Regions from separate parts of the Homo sapiens genome. Here region 2 is linked to region 1. The links are contacts of gene promoters, found by promoter capture Hi-C in human tissues and cell types (Jung and others, 2019). All regions are on one chromosome and are shown on one strand. The core of a region is centred on a gene start or on the middle of the fragment in contact, and the rest is flanking DNA. Distances in the headings are between cores, read along the strand shown. Region 1 holds the start of COX6C (cytochrome c oxidase subunit 6C). Region 2 overlaps POP1 (POP1 ribonuclease P/MRP subunit).

Region 1 (5,375 bases), core at 733-3,232:
GCATTCCAGCAAACTAACAAGCTTCATTTAAAGATGGAGGACAAGCTATAGTTCCTGTCACACTGAGGTGAGTGCAGAAAGGGTTAGAAAGAAACACATTACAAGGGGGAGTTTCTTTAAAAGATTTTTCAACCAAAAACACATACTTTATGACCTTCGGCACAAAGTAAAAAACATACATACCTTATACAAAGCTGCAACCCCCAGGGATAGCACGAATGCTACAGCCATATGATTTCGCAGACGCCTGGCCAGAAGGCCACGCATCCGAGGTTTTGGCAAAACTTCGGGAGCCATGGTAGTTACTGTCCTTGATACGTATGCTAACCTTAAGAGATTCAGAAAATATGATTAAGTACAGAGTTTATTTAAGCCACAAACTTGAGAATGGCCACCTGGAAGCATTGATTGGAGCTGCCCTGAATATACACTCCGATTAGCAGCAGTTACAAATGAATGTTTTTCTTTTTTGGCAGAAACAGGGTCTAGCTATGCTCCCCAGGCTGGTCTTAAACTCCTGCCCTCAAGTGATCATCCTACCTCGTCCTCCCAAAGTGCTGGGATTCCGGCCTACAAGTGAGTTAAGAAAAAATGAGAGGCAATTCCTAAACTGTTTATCAAAAATTTACATTAAAATAACATAAGCTATTGACTGACTAAACGCTGTCCTTTATATCACAAATTCAGGAATAAGATTTGGGTTGAGACATGGGTGAGGGGCGGCACTGAAGTCCAATACTCAGGTCTCTGCGTCCTGCATACCTCATGTAGCTCTCACTACTCTGAGCTTTTTTTCCCTTTCTCGGGTAAAATAATAAAAGAAAAACTCAGAAAAGATATCAAAAGGAATTCTCATGCATAGTACATTTTACTACCTAGAGAGGCACAGCACGACAGTGGATGGATTCCTCCCACAAAGCCTAAGCTGTCTCTTGGCTTAGCCTGTTTCATCTTCCCCCCGCCCCCCATATACTGAGCGACCACCCTAAATAAACGCGACAAACTGCGGCACACTAGTAATGGACGAGCAAAGGCAACAAAAATCTTTCCAACAACAAGAAAAATAAGCAGTAGCTCCGCATTGGTAATTAACGATTGCAAACCCATTTATGCAACACTTTCTCTTCTAAAAATTTTCTGTCCACTCGTTAAACCTTCGCGACAACCCTGTCAGATCATGAGGCAGGTGTTTTCCACGGTCACACGGTATACCATTAAAACCTGGACGGGAACGCGGCAAATACCATGAGGGCCCAAATTCCCTAACTGCTCCTTTGCCCAGCCTCACCTAAAGACCTAAGGGGCCTAAAAACTTTTGCGTCCCTGCTGGCCTTCAGCTAACGCGGCCGGGGGTAGGATGGGAAGCCGTGGGGCAAGGGAGGTTGCAGGAAGCCCATCCTTCCCCTCCTGCGGCAGGTACGGTGACCCTCCTCCAGTTTTCCAGCTCTAATTTAAAACGCTGCCACACAGCGAGCGACGCTGCCAGCTGCTTCGCCTACACTAACCCTTGCGCCTCACGACCAGCTGCATTAGAAACCACCACCCCTTTTCTCACGGGAGAAACACCGGGGCCAGATAGGTCAAATGACCTCACCAAGGTCACAATGGCTGTGAAAAAGCGCAGCGGGTACCAGCCCCGGGCCAGCTCACTCCGAAGCCAGCTGGGTTCTCGAGGGTCCCGCAGCCCACCCGGCTTCGGTGGGGCCGTCGCAACCCACCCCGGTCCGTGGTCCGCCCGCCGCCCTCCCTCAGGCCGCAGCGGAAGCGTGAGAGAGTAGATGCGGGAGAGGCCTGAAGCTGCACCACGGCGGAGACACACAGTCACGACTAAATCCGAGGCAGAGAGAAAGCGGGAGGGTGCCGTTGTGACAACCCGCAGTGTCGGGGTAGGGATGCAAAAGGGACCGGACTCACCTCAACACCAACGTCCTTCCTGACTAAAGGAAAAACGAACCGTGCTGTAGCCGCGCGCAGGCGCAGAATAAGAGTGCACAGCGAGAACGCGGCGACGGTAGCCGAAGGAGTTCAAAAGACCTCTAGTGCGCCCACCGCAGGTGACAGCCGAAGTTCATTTCGTGGTCTGCTTCTTTCCTGTGTGACCTTGCAAAACGGGCTTGACCTCCTTATTTATCGACCTCTTTATCTTCTTAGTAAATTGAAGATATTAGTCGTACTCATACACAGAGTCCCAAACCATGTGCACAAACCGACATTTTAATTATAACCAACCTTACGCGAATAACCGTTTGGCTTGGGTAAAAGTGAAAAAGCTGACTTCTAGGAGCTCACAGCCCAGAAGATGAAAAAGACAAACAGATTAATACCGATCCCATGCAGTGGGCACTACCACAGAGACGTGGCCCAGCTACTGCAGAAGCAATTCTCTACCTGGCAAAGCTGAGGACGTTTTGATAGAGGGGCGGTATTTTTGTGGGTTTCTTAAGAAAACAAGGATTTTGAAGGAAGGCAACTGGAAGTTCGTGGAAAGTGGTGTAGAAGGGTGAGGCTCTTGTGCCTTAATGATGCCAGGCTGTTTGTATTGAAATAACCTGAATTTTAAAAGCATTATTTAAGTCAACCCATCAAGCCCTGTGGAAGGTAGCTGGGACACAACAGATGCATGATATTGAGTCGATATATACACTGAGTACCTACTATGTGCCAGATTCTGCTAAACAAGAGGACAGATCTTCGGGGAGTCTCATTCTGATCAGGGAGTCTTTGTCCTCAACCTATTAACCAACACTCTGGAGGGTGAAACCTGGCCACAAAGAAAGGTGCTCAATTGAGGTTCAAAAGTAGGTTTGGACTTTACCAACGTTTTTCAGGCCTCTTATCAAGGGTCTACCCAGCTGAAAATCTTTGCATGGAATTTGTCCAGAGAGTAATTTGTTTCTATTCTCTTTCCATCCCCACCCCCAGAGAAGAAGTGGTGAACTTAAGAGTTCACAGGGATTAGTGTATGTGAAACCATCAGGGAAAGCTTCAGACAATACGTGGAAGAGATGGAAGCAGAGCTGAGTTTCAGTCTAATGGAAAGCCTGGAAAACTGGAGAAATTGGAGAGAAAACATTGGCTGGGAGAACATGGCAAAGACAGGCACACTCAGGGCACAGAGCCTGACCTGAGTGAAATACTGAGTGTTTGTTCTGTGCTTCCCTAGCTATCCAGTGAACCATAGTGAATGACTGAGGGTGACACGTGAATAAAACCTGAGCGATAGATGAAGAGAGACATGTTACATATAGGTTCTGTTCTAGAGCCGAACAGACCTGGATTTGAGTCCCAGCTCATCAACTTGTAGCGGCAAATTTCTTCATCTTTCTAAGTCTGCTTTCTCCTCTAAAAATAGTACCCATTTTGTTGGGTTGTGATGTAAATTAAATGGGATAATGTATATGCAGCTTGAGTATCCCTTATCTGAAATATTTGAGACCAGAAGTGTTTCAGATTTTGGATTTTTTCAGATTTTTGAGTATTTGCAGAATACATGCCAGTTGAGCATCCCAATCTGAAAATCTGAAATCCAAAATGCTCCACTGAGCATTTCCTTGAGCATCACATCAGTGCTCAAAAAGTTTTGGATTTTGGAGCGTTTTGGATTTTGGATTTTCAGATTAAGGGTGTTCAACCTATACAGTGCTTGACAAACAGACATTCTGAATATGCATTCCTCCCTGTGTTCTTTTGCCTGTCCTGCATTCCTTCAATCTTTCTTTTAGTAGCAGTGCTTAATCAATCCTTCATCACTTCTAGCCATGTGATTCTACAACAGTCAAATCTTATTCCAGACTGGGTGTGGTGGCTCACACCTGTAATCCCAGCACTTTGGGAGGCCAAGGAAGGCAGATTACTTGAGCCCAGGTGTTGGAGACCAACCTGAGCAACATAGACCACCATCTCCATAAAAAACTTTAAAACTTAGCCGGGCATAGTGTGATTTATGCCTATAGTCCCAGCTACTCAGGAGGCTGAGGCTGGAGGATCACTTGAGCCCAAGAGTTGCAGGCTGTAGTGAGCTATGACTGCACCACTGTACTCCAGCCAGACAGAGTGAGACCCTGTCTTTAAAAAGAAAAAGAAAAAACATTATTCCAGTTGAGCAGATGACCCAAGAGTAGCCAAGCAATGTAGCCCATCCCCTTGGCCACAGTAATTTGTTGAGGATGGGCACAGGATTCTGGCCAGGCCAGTGAAACTCAATTCTATGACTTCTGTTGAAACTACTGGGGGAAAAGATATCTTTTTATAGAGAGAGGAGTTTGCATTGGGTTGCAGTAGGGGTCTTGCAGATCTGTGAGAGTATAAAGCCAGAGGGTACTGTGTGCCTATAATGTGCCAAGCACAGCACATGACAAAATGGCATGAAAAGCCTCATGAAGCTTTCATTCTAGTGGGCTTCGAGGAAAAAACCAACAAAAATAAAAAATATATCTGAAGGAGGTAAGTGGAATGGAAACAACAGAGTAGGGGTAAAGAAAGTCTGTGTGAAGAGGTATCTTTTTATATTGAAAGGTTGATGAAACAACCCATGAAACAAGCCCATGGTCTTCACTAAACTAAAAGATGCCTCAGTGGAAAGACTAGGCTTGTTCTGCATAGCCCTAAGGAATAAAGTAGGATGGATGGGTGGAAGATACTGGGAGTTAGATGTCAGTTAAGTATTCCCCATGGCTAGAAATCAGTCCCTTTCAAGGTCATCCTCAACCAGAGACACATCCACTTGGGGGAGACAAGGATCCCTTAATTGGTAAAGAGGCATACCAACAGTCTTGTTCCCACTATATCTCTCCATTCTGGCCTTGACAATCACCAGGTCAGCATGTTACCTTAAAATGTGTTGATAAGATGCCACTTTTTAAATACAAACTTAGGGGGAAGTGGGGTCCAGGGTAGGGAAACAGCTGGTTGCATGGCAAGAGTGATGCCGTCTTGAAGAAAAACTGCCATGATGACCGATGTTTGACTACTGCATACCAAGGTGTTTCCATGGCATGGATAAACCCTCATAAAGATGTTTATCTAACCTCCCCAGTGGTCACAAGTTTTGCTAGAAAGTCTGAGGCATGACCAGCTGCATGTTTTACCAAAAAAGCTTGCTATATAGAGGATATTTTCTGGAGCACAGATGCGGGGATCTACCATCCCTCAGCCAACAGAGAGATTGTTTCTGTTCCTAAGTCCCTTTTAAATGTTTCTTCCTGAGAAACTGGATTTGTCAGTCTCTCTCTTCAGCCTTTGGGGGCAAGTTTGCATAGACCTGCTCACCACTGTTCCTTGTTAACTGTGAATCCTGTCCTTAGGACAAAAGACCCTTGACCATTAATCTTTCCCTTAGGCAGATTTATCAGCCTCTTTTTCAGCCTTTCAGCTTC
Region 2 (5,019 bases), core at 1,631-4,130, 1.7 Mb before region 1:
TTAAATGAAAAAAGTGAAGTTAAGCAAAAAGTACTGTACCTAGTATGCTGCTATTTGTATAAAAATAAATAAAAAGAAAGAAATATGTAATATCTGCTTGTGTGTACATAAGATGTCTCTGGAAGGCTATGTAAGAAACTGATAATGATATTTATTACCTTTGTGGAGGATAGCTGGGTCACTAGAGGTCAAGAGTAAGACAGAAACTTCATGTAGCCTTGAGCTTAGAACCTCGTAAGTGTACAGGAAAATCGTGGCACAACTCTAGGGGCACCAGTTCCTTGTAGCTTTCAGGAATGGATCCCCTGGTGTGGTTCAGTGGCCACATGGGGCTACATTGTTTATTGAAGACCAAAGAAAACAAAAAAGCTTGGCCAGTAGAATTGGTTATTATTATTATTTTATTTTTTATTTTTTGGAGATGGAGTTTCGCTTTTGTCAGGATAGAGTGCAGTGGCATGATCTTGGCTCACTGCAACCTCTGCCTCCTGGGTTCAAGCGATTCTTCTGCCTCAGCCTCCCTAGTATCTGGGATTACAGGCATGTGCCACCACACCCAGCTAATTTTTTTGTATTTTTAGTAGAGACAGGGTTTCACCATGTTGGCCAGGCTGGTCTCGAACTCCTGACGTGACGTGATCCATCCGCCTGGGCCTCCCAAAGTGCTGGGATTACAAGCATGAGCCACCATGCCTGGCCTATTATTATTATTTTCTGAGACGGAGTCTCACTCTGTTGCCCAGGCTGGAGTGCAATGGTGTGATCTCAGCTCACTGCAACCTCTGCCTCCTGGGTTTAAGTGATTCGTCTGCCTCAGCCTCCCAGTAGTTGGGATTATAGGCACCCTCCACCATGCCCGGCTAATTTTTGTATTTTTAGTAGAGCTTTCACCATGTTGGCCAGGCTGGTCTCGAACTCCTGACCTCAGGTGATCGCCTGCCTTGGCCTCCTAAAGTGCTGGGATTACAGGCATGAGCCACTGAGCCCAGCCTATTATTCTTTATCATATGTTTCTTGGAAAGCTTTTGTGTGTGTGTGTGTGTGTGTGTGTGTGTGTGTGTGTGTGTGTGTGTTTTAAAATAGAGATGCATTATAATGGTTATAATTATTTTAGTTTTCCAATCCTAAATTGTTCAACATTGGTTCTCCTGTATGTTTTTCTTTAGACGCCCTCCTGCAAAACGGCCCAACTACGTTAAGCTTGGCACTCTGGCACCTTTCTGCTGTCCCTGGGAGCAGTTAACTCAAGACTGGGAGTCAAGAGTCCAGGCTTACGAAGAACCTTCTGTAGCTTCATCTCCAAATGGTAAGGAGAGTGACCTAAGAAGATCTGAGGTGCCTTGTGCTCCCATGCCTAAAAAAACTCATCAGCCATCTGATGAAGTGGGCACATCCATAGAGCACCCCAGGGAGGCAGAGGAGGTAATGGATGCAGGGTGTCAAGAATCGGCAGGGCCTGAGAGGATCACAGACCAGGAGGCCAGTGAAAACCATGTTGCTGCCACAGGGAGTCACCTCTGCGTTCTCAGGTAAGTGTCGGTGACTTCTGGGTACATTTTGGATTATTTATTTTAATATTGAAGAGGCTACAGGATGTAAGCGTTATCACTGTTTGTTTATGCAAAATCCAAGTGAATTTATAGGCTTTCTGGAAGGGAAAGCCAGTCTTTTATATTTCATAGAGGGCTCAGGGAAACAGCTTAATAATATTTGATGTAAGGCATGATGCTAATTGATGAAATGATTTACAATATTGTCATCAATAGATCCAAGCCAAGGCAGTTTTTTTTCTGACATATTTTATGCAGTTTGAGCAAGGATTCTTTGCTTTAAATTACCAAATTAGATTTCTTCTAGTTCCTTTTGAATTATATGGATTTGTGTTAGAGCAGCAACCCATTAGATGTAATATAGTCCTAGCCAGAGAGGCTACCGGATACACTATGTTCTCCTCTCAGTATTGGTGTGGGCCAGGTTCTGCTCATCAGTGACCCTGCATTCTGTGCTTTGCTCTGATTTTTTTTTTTTTTTTTTTTGAGATGGAGTCTTGCTCTGTCACCCAGGCGGGAGTGCAGAGGTGTGATCTTGGCTCACTGCAACCTCGGCCTCCTGGGTTCAAGCGATTCTCCTGCCTCAGCCTCCCAAGTAGCTGGGACTACAGGTACATGCCACCACGCCTGGCTAATTTTCACCATGTTGGCCAGGCTGGTCTCGAACTCCTGACCTCAGGTGACCCGCCCACCTCAGCCTCCCAAAGTGCTAGGATTACAGGTGTGAGCCACTGCGCCCGGCCTGTGCTTTGATTTTTAAAAAGTGCTTATCCCTCTAGCCTTGTGCTTACTTTTCCGTATAGTAGCCTCATAATTTCCTATCATTCTTTCTTACTTTACATGTAACAGTCCCTTACAGTTCCTTTACTCATTGAAATCTTAGTGGCTCTTTATTTTCACCCTCACTGTGATTACAATCCTAGATTCTATCTCACTGTCTTGTTTTCCCTGCCTTCAACTTCTTAAATCTTTAGTCCCTGAGTTTCAGAATGGCAAACACATAAAAAGAAAAATATAAGTACTAAAATGTACTACAGTGTATTTCTAATTTTTAAAAAATTGTAGTTTTGATTCTTATATAGTATAAAAGAATCAAATTAATTCTAGCAGTGTCTAATCTTCTGATTGCATATTTTTTTCTGGAACAAAATATCCTCAAACGTATGTCTCCAACTTCATGTAGGAGTAGAAAATTACTGAAGCAACTGTCAGCCTGGTGTGGGCCCAGTTCTGAGGATAGTCGGGGAGGCCGGCGAGCTCCCGGCAGAGGCCAGCAAGGATTGACCAGAGAGGCTTGCCTGTCCATCTTGGGCCACTTCCCCAGGGCCCTGGTTTGGGTCAGCCTGTCCCTGCTCAGCAAGGGCAGCCCCGAGCCTCACACCATGATCTGTGTCCCAGCCAAGGAGGACTTCCTCCAGCTCCATGAGGACTGGCATTACTGTGGGCCCCAGGAATCCAAACACAGTGACCCATTCAGGAGCAAGATCCTGAAACAGAAAGAGAAGAAGAAAAGGGAGAAGAGGCAGAAGCCAGGACGTGCCTCTTCTGATGGCCCGGCGGGGGAAGAGCCCGTGGCTGGGCAGGAAGCTCTGACTCTAGGGCTGTGGTCAGGCCCTCTGCCGCGTGTGACGTTGCACTGCTCCAGAACTCTCCTAGGCTTTGTGACTCAGGGAGATTTTTCCATGGCTGTTGGCTGTGGAGAAGCCCTGGGGTTTGTTAGCTTGACAGGCTTGCTGGATATGCTGTCCAGCCAGCCTGCAGCGCAGAGGGGCTTAGTGCTACTGAGGCCTCCCGCCTCTCTGCAGTATCGATTTGCGAGGATTGCTATTGAGGTGTGAATGCGTGCTTGTATCCCAGCAGGGCATAGATAATACGTTATTATTGTCTGCCAAGTTCTACATGTGGAGAATCTGCTTCTGCTTTAAAATATCATGTGAAACTCCCTGGAAACAAGAATAAAAAATTATGTATTATGCAGATGATGAAATGTTTACATCATTCCAGTAATGTCATTGATTTTCATCTTTCCCTGTCCTTGCTGTAATACTTTTAAATTATTTGGCCAAAAGCTTTGTATTATGATCTCTTGGTCTGTGTAGTTGTGGCTGAAAATAATGAGAAGCTCTACGAGTTATCATCCCCTTTTTTTGTTAGAAACAAAGGGCTTGTCAGGTCTATTTGAAAAACCTCATAGTCATGTGATAAGCAACAATAGATGTTTAATGATTTCACTGTTATAGCAGAAGACAAGAGAAGACGCTTGGCCTCTGTACATGAAATATGGGCTCCTGATGGACCTCATTCAATTCTGTACTGTGATTTCCATGCCGAACAACTCAAGCCTTAAAGAGAGAAATCATGGACAACTGATTTCTGCCTGTTTTCAGGCAGGCACAGTTTATGGCGTCAGTGCTAGGCTGGAATTAGAAAGTGGGGGTCTATGACGTGGACTTCCTGACTCTTTGATCTCTTTGTTGTTGACCAACACTTGATCCTACTAGTTACTTAATTTTTTTAAGTAAAAAATTATTATTATTTTGTTTCTGCAAAGATTTTCTCAAAGCCATAGAGGAGCATTTCTCAGAATATGTTCTATGATATGTGTCACCTAAAAAAGTAAGAGATTCCAAGGTCAGGTTGATATGGAAACTCTAGGTTAAATAAAGTTAAGCATTTCTTTATGAAAGAACTTCTGGAAACTTCCATGTGATAATGTGCATTGCGGATCTCTAGGAAGGAAATGATAGTGTATAGTATTTTCTAAATACTTGTGATTCCTAAAGTTCTCTTACAAGGAGCCCTTTGTAGGACCAGTGTTCTTAGTAGCGCGCTTTGGGCAGTGTGGCTGTGTAGTGCATAGCTACCTCTGCAAGGTGATAACTAAGCCGGCAAGCTGCCTTTCAACACTCATGCAGTCACGTTGTCCACCTGAGATTCTCAACAGGGTATAAAAGGAAGGTCTCATCTTGCCTCACAGGAAGAGTGGGCTCAGTGTGGCTTTTTTCCAACTATGGAGAAACTCAGTGCTCATCTACTTTAAGTTTCCACATATGGCTTGCTCATAGCCTTGGTCCTTACCTTTCCTGCCATAACTTTCTAGAAGAGCTTAATGGGATTTTTTTTCTAAAAAATGTAAATATGCAGTTAGGCATTATTTTATGTAAATGCATTGGGTTTTTACTGTAGCATTTGGCACTAAATGGCTTTGGGGGTGATGAGGTGGGGAAGGATACAGCAGGTGGTACAGTAGTCAGGAAGTACCTGCCACCAATGAGATGTCTGATGCTTTGCCTCTTACCATGCCTCTGAATGTCTTTGGATCCAACCCAGATGAGACTGAAAAAAAAAAAACAGTGTAACTAAGTGGCATCTGTAAACAGAATAAATGAAAATGTCACCTGATGTTCAGTTGTGAATATTTATATTTATTGGACCATTCCTTATTTGTTTTCTGGGCTCTCAGTCACCT

What was found. The method cuts DNA at HindIII sites, captures the fragments that hold promoters and counts their contacts. A contact is called where the count stands out against the background at its distance.
Region 2: a contact is called between a fragment that was not itself captured here and the fragment with the promoter of COX6C in region 1, in 1 of the 25 tissues and cell types used here (dorsolateral prefrontal cortex).

Annotation. Positions count from the first base shown.
Region 1 is chr8:99,891,725-99,897,099 of GRCh38, forward strand. It overlaps COX6C (cytochrome c oxidase subunit 6C), which reads right to left and starts at 1,983. Exons shown (of 4, transcript NM_004374.4): 1 at 1,915-1,983; 2 at 184-328. The coding sequence starts at 297. RefSeq lists enhancers at 825-1,473, 1,474-2,121 and a silencer at 1,595-1,764. The HindIII fragment of the contact is 7,152 bases long and covers 1-3,682 here.
Region 2 is chr8:98,154,884-98,159,902 of GRCh38, forward strand. POP1 (POP1 ribonuclease P/MRP subunit) reads left to right here. Exons shown (of 16, transcript NM_001145860.2): 15 at 1,167-1,529; 16 at 2,734-4,952. The coding sequence ends at 3,388. Among named protein-coding and RNA genes, the nearest start is that of NIPAL2-AS1, 19 kb to the right of the region's middle. The HindIII fragment of the contact is 5,544 bases long and covers 109-5,019 here.